Regions from separate parts of the Homo sapiens genome. Here region 2 is linked to region 1. The links are contacts of gene promoters, found by promoter capture Hi-C in blood cells and fetal thymus (Javierre and others, 2016). All regions are on one chromosome and are shown on one strand. Each heading gives the region's core, a stretch centred on a gene start or on the middle of the fragment in contact. The rest is flanking DNA. Distances are from core to core; before and after follow the strand shown. Region 1 holds the start of CHLSN (cholesin). Region 2 overlaps COX19 (cytochrome c oxidase assembly factor COX19).

The links. The method cuts DNA at HindIII sites, captures the fragments that hold promoters and counts their contacts. A CHiCAGO score of 5 or more calls a contact.
Region 2: a contact is called between a fragment that was not itself captured here and the fragment with the promoter of CHLSN in region 1, in 1 of 17 cell types (total B cells). The highest score is 5.7, in total B cells.

The regions. Positions count from the first base shown.
Region 1 is chr7:1,136,353-1,139,943 of GRCh38, reverse strand. It overlaps CHLSN (cholesin), which reads left to right and starts at 1,697. Exons shown (of 5, transcript NM_001318252.2): 1 at 1,697-2,629. RefSeq lists silencers at 1,288-1,427, 1,628-2,077, 2,088-2,137 and an enhancer at 1,468-1,567. The HindIII fragment of the contact is 2,681 bases long and covers 424-3,104 here.
Region 2 is chr7:964,276-968,341 of GRCh38, reverse strand. It overlaps COX19 (cytochrome c oxidase assembly factor COX19), which reads left to right. Exons shown (of 3, transcript NM_001031617.3): 3 at 1-3,490. Among named protein-coding and RNA genes, the nearest start is that of COX19, 9.2 kb to the left of the region's middle. RefSeq lists enhancers at 271-771, 772-1,272, 3,743-3,852. The HindIII fragment of the contact is 2,351 bases long and covers 1,391-3,741 here.

The sequences.
Region 1 (3,591 bases), core at 448-2,947:
TTTTTAGTAGAGATGGAGTTTTGCCACGTTGGCCAGGCTGGTGTTGAACTCCTGACTTCAAGTGATCCATCCACCTCAGCCTCCCAAAGTGCTGGGATTACAGGTGTGAGCCACCGCACCCGGCCGACTTCTAATGAACAGAATATGGCAAAAGCCTAGGGAAGTCACTTCTGAGATTAGGGTGCAAGGAGACTGTGATGTGCGTCTTGTGTGTGCCTCCTCTTGTGTGTGCTTGCACCGTCTAAGGCAAGCCAGCTGCAGTGTTGTGAGCTTCCTTGTGGTAAGGCCCATGTACCAAGGAACTGAGGGTGGCCTTTGGGCAGCAGCCAGCAAGGCTGAGGCCCTTCTCTAATGACCTTGGAGGACTGAGTCCTTACAATATCCGTGTGTGTGAGCTTGGGAGTGGATCATTCCAGATAAGCTTTCCGATGAAACCACAACCCTGGGGGGACACCTTGACCACAACTTGGTGAACCCTTGAGGCAAAGGCACAGAGCTTAGCCACGCCCACTTTCCTGACCGCGGATACCATGAAAAAATAAATGTTCTTTTAGGCTGCTAAATGTTGGGTTAATTTGTTATGCAGAAAAAGGAACCAAATACAATCTTCTACCAGTAAGGAAGAGTGCACCTTCTTTGCTTGTCACCTTTGGATTCCTGAGGCAACGTACATCATACTTGATACGGCTGCCAAGCACTTAACTTACTGGGTGACTTGAAAGCATGCTTTTTTTTCTTTTTTTTTTTTAGACGGGGTCTGGCTCTGTTGCCCAGGCTGGAGTGCAGTGCCTTGATCATAGCTCACTGCAGCCTCCATCTCCCAGGCTCCAGCGATCCTCCCACCTCAGCGTCCAGAGTATCAGGAACTACAGGCACGTGCCACCATACCCGGCTAATTTTTATTTTTTTAATTTATTTTTTATTTTTTAAAACAGAGTCTCATTCTGTCGCCCAGGCTGGAGTGCAGTGGCACGATCTCGGCTCACTGCAACCTCCACCTCCCGGGCTTAAACGATTTTCCTGCCTCAGCCTCCCGAGTAGCTGGGATTACAGGCACCTGCCACCACGCCTGGCTAATTTTTGTATTTTTAGCAGAGACGGGGTTACGGGGTTTCGTCATGTTGGCCAGGCGGGTCTCGAACTCCTGAGCTCAAGCGATCCGCCCGCCTGGGCCTCCCAAAATGCTGGGATCACAGGCGTGAGTCACCGCTCCCGGACACAAGCATTATTATAACACTACCCACCCTGTGTATTTTTTAGCACCTATCCTGATTTTTTAAATTCAGCACGAAGTTTAAGTCCTAGCCCTGTTGATCCCAATAGCCGTAGCTCATCCATTTCGACTCCGAGCCGAGCTCCATACCCTGGACCCTCGGCGGAGGCCCCACCCCGGGACGCCAGCCCGGCCGGGGCAGCTTGCACCCCAGACCCCCAAGCCCTGCGGGGCCCAAACCTAGTCATCTGCACTTGTTCTGGGCAGGGCGGGTTGCCTTGGCAACCAGCTCCTCTCCAAGCAACTCTAGGCCTCTAGAGATGGCGTCAGTAGCCCGCGCCCGGTCCTGGAACCGCCCCCCGTGCTGCCGCCGCTTGCCATTAGCCGGCGGAGAGACGGACGCAGACCTCGTCCAATGGGAGGCTCCGCACTCCTGAAGGCGGGACTAACGCTTACCTGGGGCGCGGGTCCCTGCCGGAAGGCGGCGTCCGCGACGCAGCTGTTCACGCTTAGGTGGGCGACGTGGGCGCAGGTGGGCGCAGGTAGGCGCGTGGGGCGGCGGCGGGGTGGCCGGCGGGTCAGGGCGCCAGGAGACCCAGAGCCCCGGGGCGGGCTCCCGCGGGGCTCCGCCCCCTCCACGTGGGTGCGCGGAGGCCCGGCGCGGCGCGACCGGGCGGCGGCCCTGGGGTCCGCGGTGCTGGGGAGGCTGGTGCGGCCGGTGCGGCCGGTGCGTCCCGGCGCGGGCTCCGACACCCGCACCCGCCTCTGGGTTAACTCAGCGCGGGCGAGTGGAAGGGACTCAGCTGGCTCCTAGGTTTCAGGCCGTCAGGGCTTGCAGTGGCTCTGGTTTCATTGTCTTTCTCTGAAGACGCCCTGATTGCCCTCCGAGGCTTTCAGCTCCCACTTTCTCTTTTTCAATTTTTGAGGCAGTGTCTCGCTGTGCCACCCAGGCTGGAGTGCAATGGCGTGATCATAGCTCACTGCAGCCTCCACCTCCTGGGCTCAAGCCGTCCTCCCGCCTCATCCTCCCAAGTAGCTGGGACCACATGCGCGCGCCACCACACCCGGATAATTTTTAAAAATGTTTTTTGTAGAAATGGGGTCTCACCATGTTACCCAGGCTGGTCTCGAATTCTTGGGCTCAAGCGATGGATCCTCCTGCCTCGGCCTCCCAAAGTGCTGGGATTACAGGAGTGAGCCAACGCGCTTGGCCTCACTTTCCATCATAAGCATGCTTTCCGTTTCCTTCCTTCCGTCATTCATTCATTCATTTTTAAAAAACGTTCATTGGGTTCCTCCTGCACTGTTCGGGGCATTGGGCTACAGCTGTCAACAAGTGGAGACAAGTCTGTGATCTAGTGAACTTCCATTCTGGAGGGGAGAGACAGATGAACAAGGTGCACAGAGCAGGTGATGGTAAGTGCCATGGAGAAGATGAGAACAGGGGTTTTGAGAATGGAAAGGAAGCAGGAGGAGGAGTGAGGCACCAGAACATTCCAGGTCGAGGAAACAGCAGGTGCAGGGGAAACAGCAGGGAGCCCAGTGTGGCTGCAGCCAATTTGGGAACAGAGAGAGAAAGAGGAGGTGAGTTCCCAGAGATGCGAGGAGGGGCCAGGGCAGTCGTGTGGACCTTACCAAGTGGCAAGGACCTTGACTTTCCCTCCAAGTGGAAGGGGACAGCTTGGGAAGTTTTTTGAGTGGAGGTGACACACCATCTGATTTAGGAGTTTAAAAGCCATCGTGAGAGGTGGTGGCTTGGACTGGGTACCTATGGGATCTTAAGGGAGTCACATTCTGGGTGTATTTCAGTGGTAAACCAACAGGAGTTTGTGGTGGGTTGGACGAGTATGTGAGAAAGAGAGGATTTATGGATGGACCAAGGTTTTAAGCTTGAGCTACTATGTGAACCTCATCAGATGGATGTTTATGGAGAGGATGAACACTAGGAAGCTCAGGTTTGTGGAGGGTGATCAGGGGTATTGATTACGAATTCTTAAGCTTGAGATGATATATGTGTAGATGATATATATAAGTACATATATATGGTTATATATATAGTTATATATATACACAGTTTATACACACATCCGCATATATATATTTATTTTTATATATTTATATATATTTATATATGTTTATATATGTTTATATATGTTTATGTTTATATGTTTATATATGTTTATATATGTTCATATATATGTTTATATATATTTATATATGTTTATATATATTTATATGTTTATATATGTTTATATATTTATATATGTTTATATATGTTTATATATATTTATATATATGTTTATATATATTTATATATATGTTTATATATATTTATATATATGTTTATATATTTATATATATTTATATATATGTTTATA
Region 2 (4,066 bases), core at 1,317-3,816, 170 kb after region 1:
GGGCCACCAATCTGGCCGACCTCAGGCTCTGGGAAACAGGCTGCCCTCGTCCCTCTGCCTGTGGGTGGCTGAGGCTTCTCAGCCCATCTCCAGTTCTCTGCAGCAAAGGCCCTCTGTTTCTGTCCTGCAGTGGTGGCCCTTTCGTGGTTAAACATGTCCCTCCCCTCCTCACAGAACTGAGTACCTATTGCGGCTGGGCCCGCCCAACCCTGTGTCCCTGCACCCATGGGTTCTACCACCTGATTCGGCTGCAGCTGTCACTGTCCCGTGTCTGCTCTCTGTCAGGCCTCTGAGTGCTGCAGACGTATTAACATATCACCGCTAGTTGATGGAAAGTCTTGTTTCTTATTAGAATATTTTGTGTAGGCACAGGGTTGCCCCAGCACTGTCTATAGCAACCCCAGTGTCCTCACAGTGCACGTGAGCCGTGACGCAGCCACCGTGGAGTCGGCGCTGACGCGGTGTGGCCACGTGCCATGAGCTCGCCAACGCAGTGCGGCTATATGGCGTGAGCTTACTGTGAAGTGGAGACAGGCAGGGACACAGGAAACTACAAACGAGAAATCCAGAAGGAGGAGCTGGAACTGATGGGCATAGCCGGCCGCGAGCCCCTCCGAGCACCCCTGGGGGTGGAGTTCTGGCTGTCATGGCAGAGGGTTTCACATGCTCAAAAAGTAAATGAACCAGGATGTGAGGGGAACACAACAGACCATGCCGACGGAGCTCCCGGGCCCAGGCCGGGGCCTCTTCCCATCGCACTCTGACCCGCCGTCGGGAGTGCCCAGGCCCGGGTCGGGCCTGCCTCTCCGCTCGCACCGCACTCTGACCCATCAGGAGTGTGGGGAAGACCGTCGACCAAAGGTGGGAAAGACAGGAAAGATACTGTACTCTAAGTAGTAAATTTGTTTTTTGCGTGGACGATTCTGAAGCTGTATTCTGAGATGGAAAAAACTAGAAATACATCGTGGATGATGAGAGCCAGGTGTATTGAGCTCCTGCTTTTCTAACGTACAAAGGTAACTGGATAGAGAAACGGAGTGATCGCCCTCACCTGGCCAGGGTGTGCTCCGAGACCCCAGCAGGTGCCGAAGCCGCGGATAGTCCCGAATCCTGTCCAGGCGCTGTTTTTTCCTGTACGTACCTGTGATCAAGTCTGAGATGTGACAGCAAAACTGACAGAACTTCGTGCTTCCCTCTTCAAAATGTCACAGATGGGCACTGTGTTCTTACCGGAGATCTTAGCAACCTCGGCATCTGGCTGTTTTTCTTATAGGTCAGGAGTTTCCACCTTTTCCCTTAAAGGAAGCGCTTGGCAGCTTCTCTGGTGTGTCTGAGTCGCCAGCATCACCACTGTCCTGTTCTGGGGCCATTCTTAAGTAAAATAAAAGCTTCTTGGACCCAAGCACCACATCACCGCGATGGCTGGTCTGATCACCGAGATGGCTGCTGAGTGCCTGGCAGGCAGGGTGGCGTGGATGGCCCGAAACGCTGGACGGAGGGAGGGTTGATGTCCCAGCAGGACGGCTGCTCAGAACAGCACAGAATCAAAAACTCATGAATGGTTTATTTCTGGAATTTTCCACTTAGTATTTTTGGACTGTGGCTGACCATGGGTAACTGAAACCGTGTGTAAGGGGGACTGTTGTGAGGGGCTGTGCACAAATGCTTCCCAGCTCTTGAGGGCCTGGACGCAGTGACCCGTGCACTCAGGGTCTTGGCCCTGATACCATTCTGTAACCAAAAGGAACCAGGGCCAGGCCAGAGAAGGTATCAGATGAGCTAGAGAGTGAAGAATTGCTGGGATGAGGAGACTTGTTGAAATAACACGGGGGGATGGGAAGGAGCATACGGTGGCCAGCCTGGGGCAGTGTGAGCGTGAAAATAAACAGGCTGGGCGCAGCGGCTCACGCCTGCAATCCCAGCACTTTAGGAGGCCAAGGTGGGAGGATCACTTGAGGCTAGGAGTTCAAGACCAGCCTGGGCAACATGGGTGAAACCCTGTCTCTACAAAACAAGAAAAGTCAGCCGTGCGTGGTGTCACCCGCCTGTAGTCCCAGATACTCAGGAAGCTGAGGCAGGAGGATCACTTGAGCCAGAGGTTAAGTCTGCAGTGAGCTGTGATTGTACCACTGCTCTCCAGCCTGAGCAACAGAGCCGGACCCTGTCTCACCAAAGGAAAAAAAAAAAAAAAAAAGAAAGAAAATTAATTATTGTAATGGGCTGTAGCCCTCAGAATAAATTGATATCCAGTAGTCTATACAACATAAGTAATTGCGTAAACATGTCAGTGGGGGGAGGGCCAGGTCTGTCTTATTAATTCTAATATAGAAGAAATTTTGGGAACAGGAAACTGCTGTTGCAGAAACCACACTGGTGACAGGTGCAGATTACAACCCTCAGCGGGCCGGGCGCCAGTGGCTCACGCCTATAATCCCAACACTTTGGGAGGCCGAGGCAGGCAGATCACTTGAGGCCAGGAGTTCAAGGCCAGCCTGGCCAACATGGAGAAACCCTGTCTCTACTAAAAATACAAAAATTAGCTGGGGCTGGTGGCGTGTGTCTGTAATCCAGCTATTCGGGAGGCCGAGGTGGGAGAATTGCCTAAACCAGGAGGCAGAGGTTGCAGTGAGCAGGGATTGTGCCACCACACTCCAGCCTGGGCGACAGAACCGTCTCAAAAAAAAACCCTCAGTTGCCATGAAGTGAGTGGTGACGTGTGGTGTGAAGCAGGTGTCTGCTGTCTTGAGAAACCTCCCCTTGAGATGCATAGTGACCTCCGAGGAGACAGTCATGTCACAGCAGAACGGCAGAGGCCCCCTTAACCCAGCAGCCACCGCCGGGAGCGAGCCGCACAGGCCGCACCGACCTGGGGGCGTCCCTGAGGGCACGGTATCACCTCTGGTTCTCTTGCCCAACTGCATGGCCTGAATGTAATCCCAAGGAGACAACAGACACAGACCCAAACCGAGGAGCCTTCTGCGAAGTGACTGGCAGCGCTGGCCCAGTGTTATGTAAGATGTTATTTGGGGAACTGGGTATACACACTGTCCTATTTTTGGAACTTTTTGGAAGTCTGAAATTATTTTGAAATGAGGAAAAAAAAATATGCTTTGTATGAAACTATAGTGGAATAGATTGAGTCGATTCTCGTTTCAAAATAACTTCAAAGAGTTTCCAATAGGCATGATGCCGGCATGAATGGTTTCAGCAGGTCACAGGCAGAGAAGCCGGAATCCCAAAATAGCGCCATTGTGTGGACAACCTGACTCCTTACAAACGTGCAGTGGCTTCCCAACGCTGCCTTTGAGTTTCTGGGTCTGGCTGCTGAATGTGTTGTGCTTAAGAATCCAGACACCCTGCTGTTCCTGCCAGAGCTTCTCACGAGATATTTCGGGTAGTTCATCATCTGTCATGTGCAGAATGCATTTTATTTCTCATAGACGCTTGTCATGATAAGCTGGCCACATTATTAAAAGGCTCCCAAAGACAATTTCCAGAGCGTTTTCCAAGCGTTCCCCTTGGGCATGAGGTAAACCGGAGGTAGCGTGGTCGCAGGCCTGGCCCGGTGTGGCTTCCCAGGAGGGGAGGTCTGACCTGGAGGCCCAGAGCCCCCCAGGGTCGGGTCTGCAGCCCCAGGGCTGATGCGTGGGGCCTCGTTTGCACAGGCCGTGTAGCCGGAGCTCAGCACTGGACCTGTTCCACCCAGGCCTCAGGAGCAAGGCAAACTGACTTCCTGAAGCTTCCTGTATCGGTTCCTCTGGCCACAGTAACAGATTACTGCAAGCCCAGCGGCTTAGAGCACCGCAAGCATTACTATTCCAGAGCAGAGTCCAAAAGGGGCCCAGGCCAGACACGATGGCCCACACCTGTCATCCCGGCAGTTTGGGAGGCCAAGGTGGGAGGATCGCCTGAGGCCAGGAGTTTGAGACCAGCCCTGGCAACGTAGTGAAACCCTGTCTCTACAAAAAAAAAAAAAAAATTGTTTTTAACTTACCCTGGTGTGGTGGCATGCACCTGTAGTCCCAGCTACTCAGGAGGCTGAGGCAGGAGGATCGCCTGAGCCTGG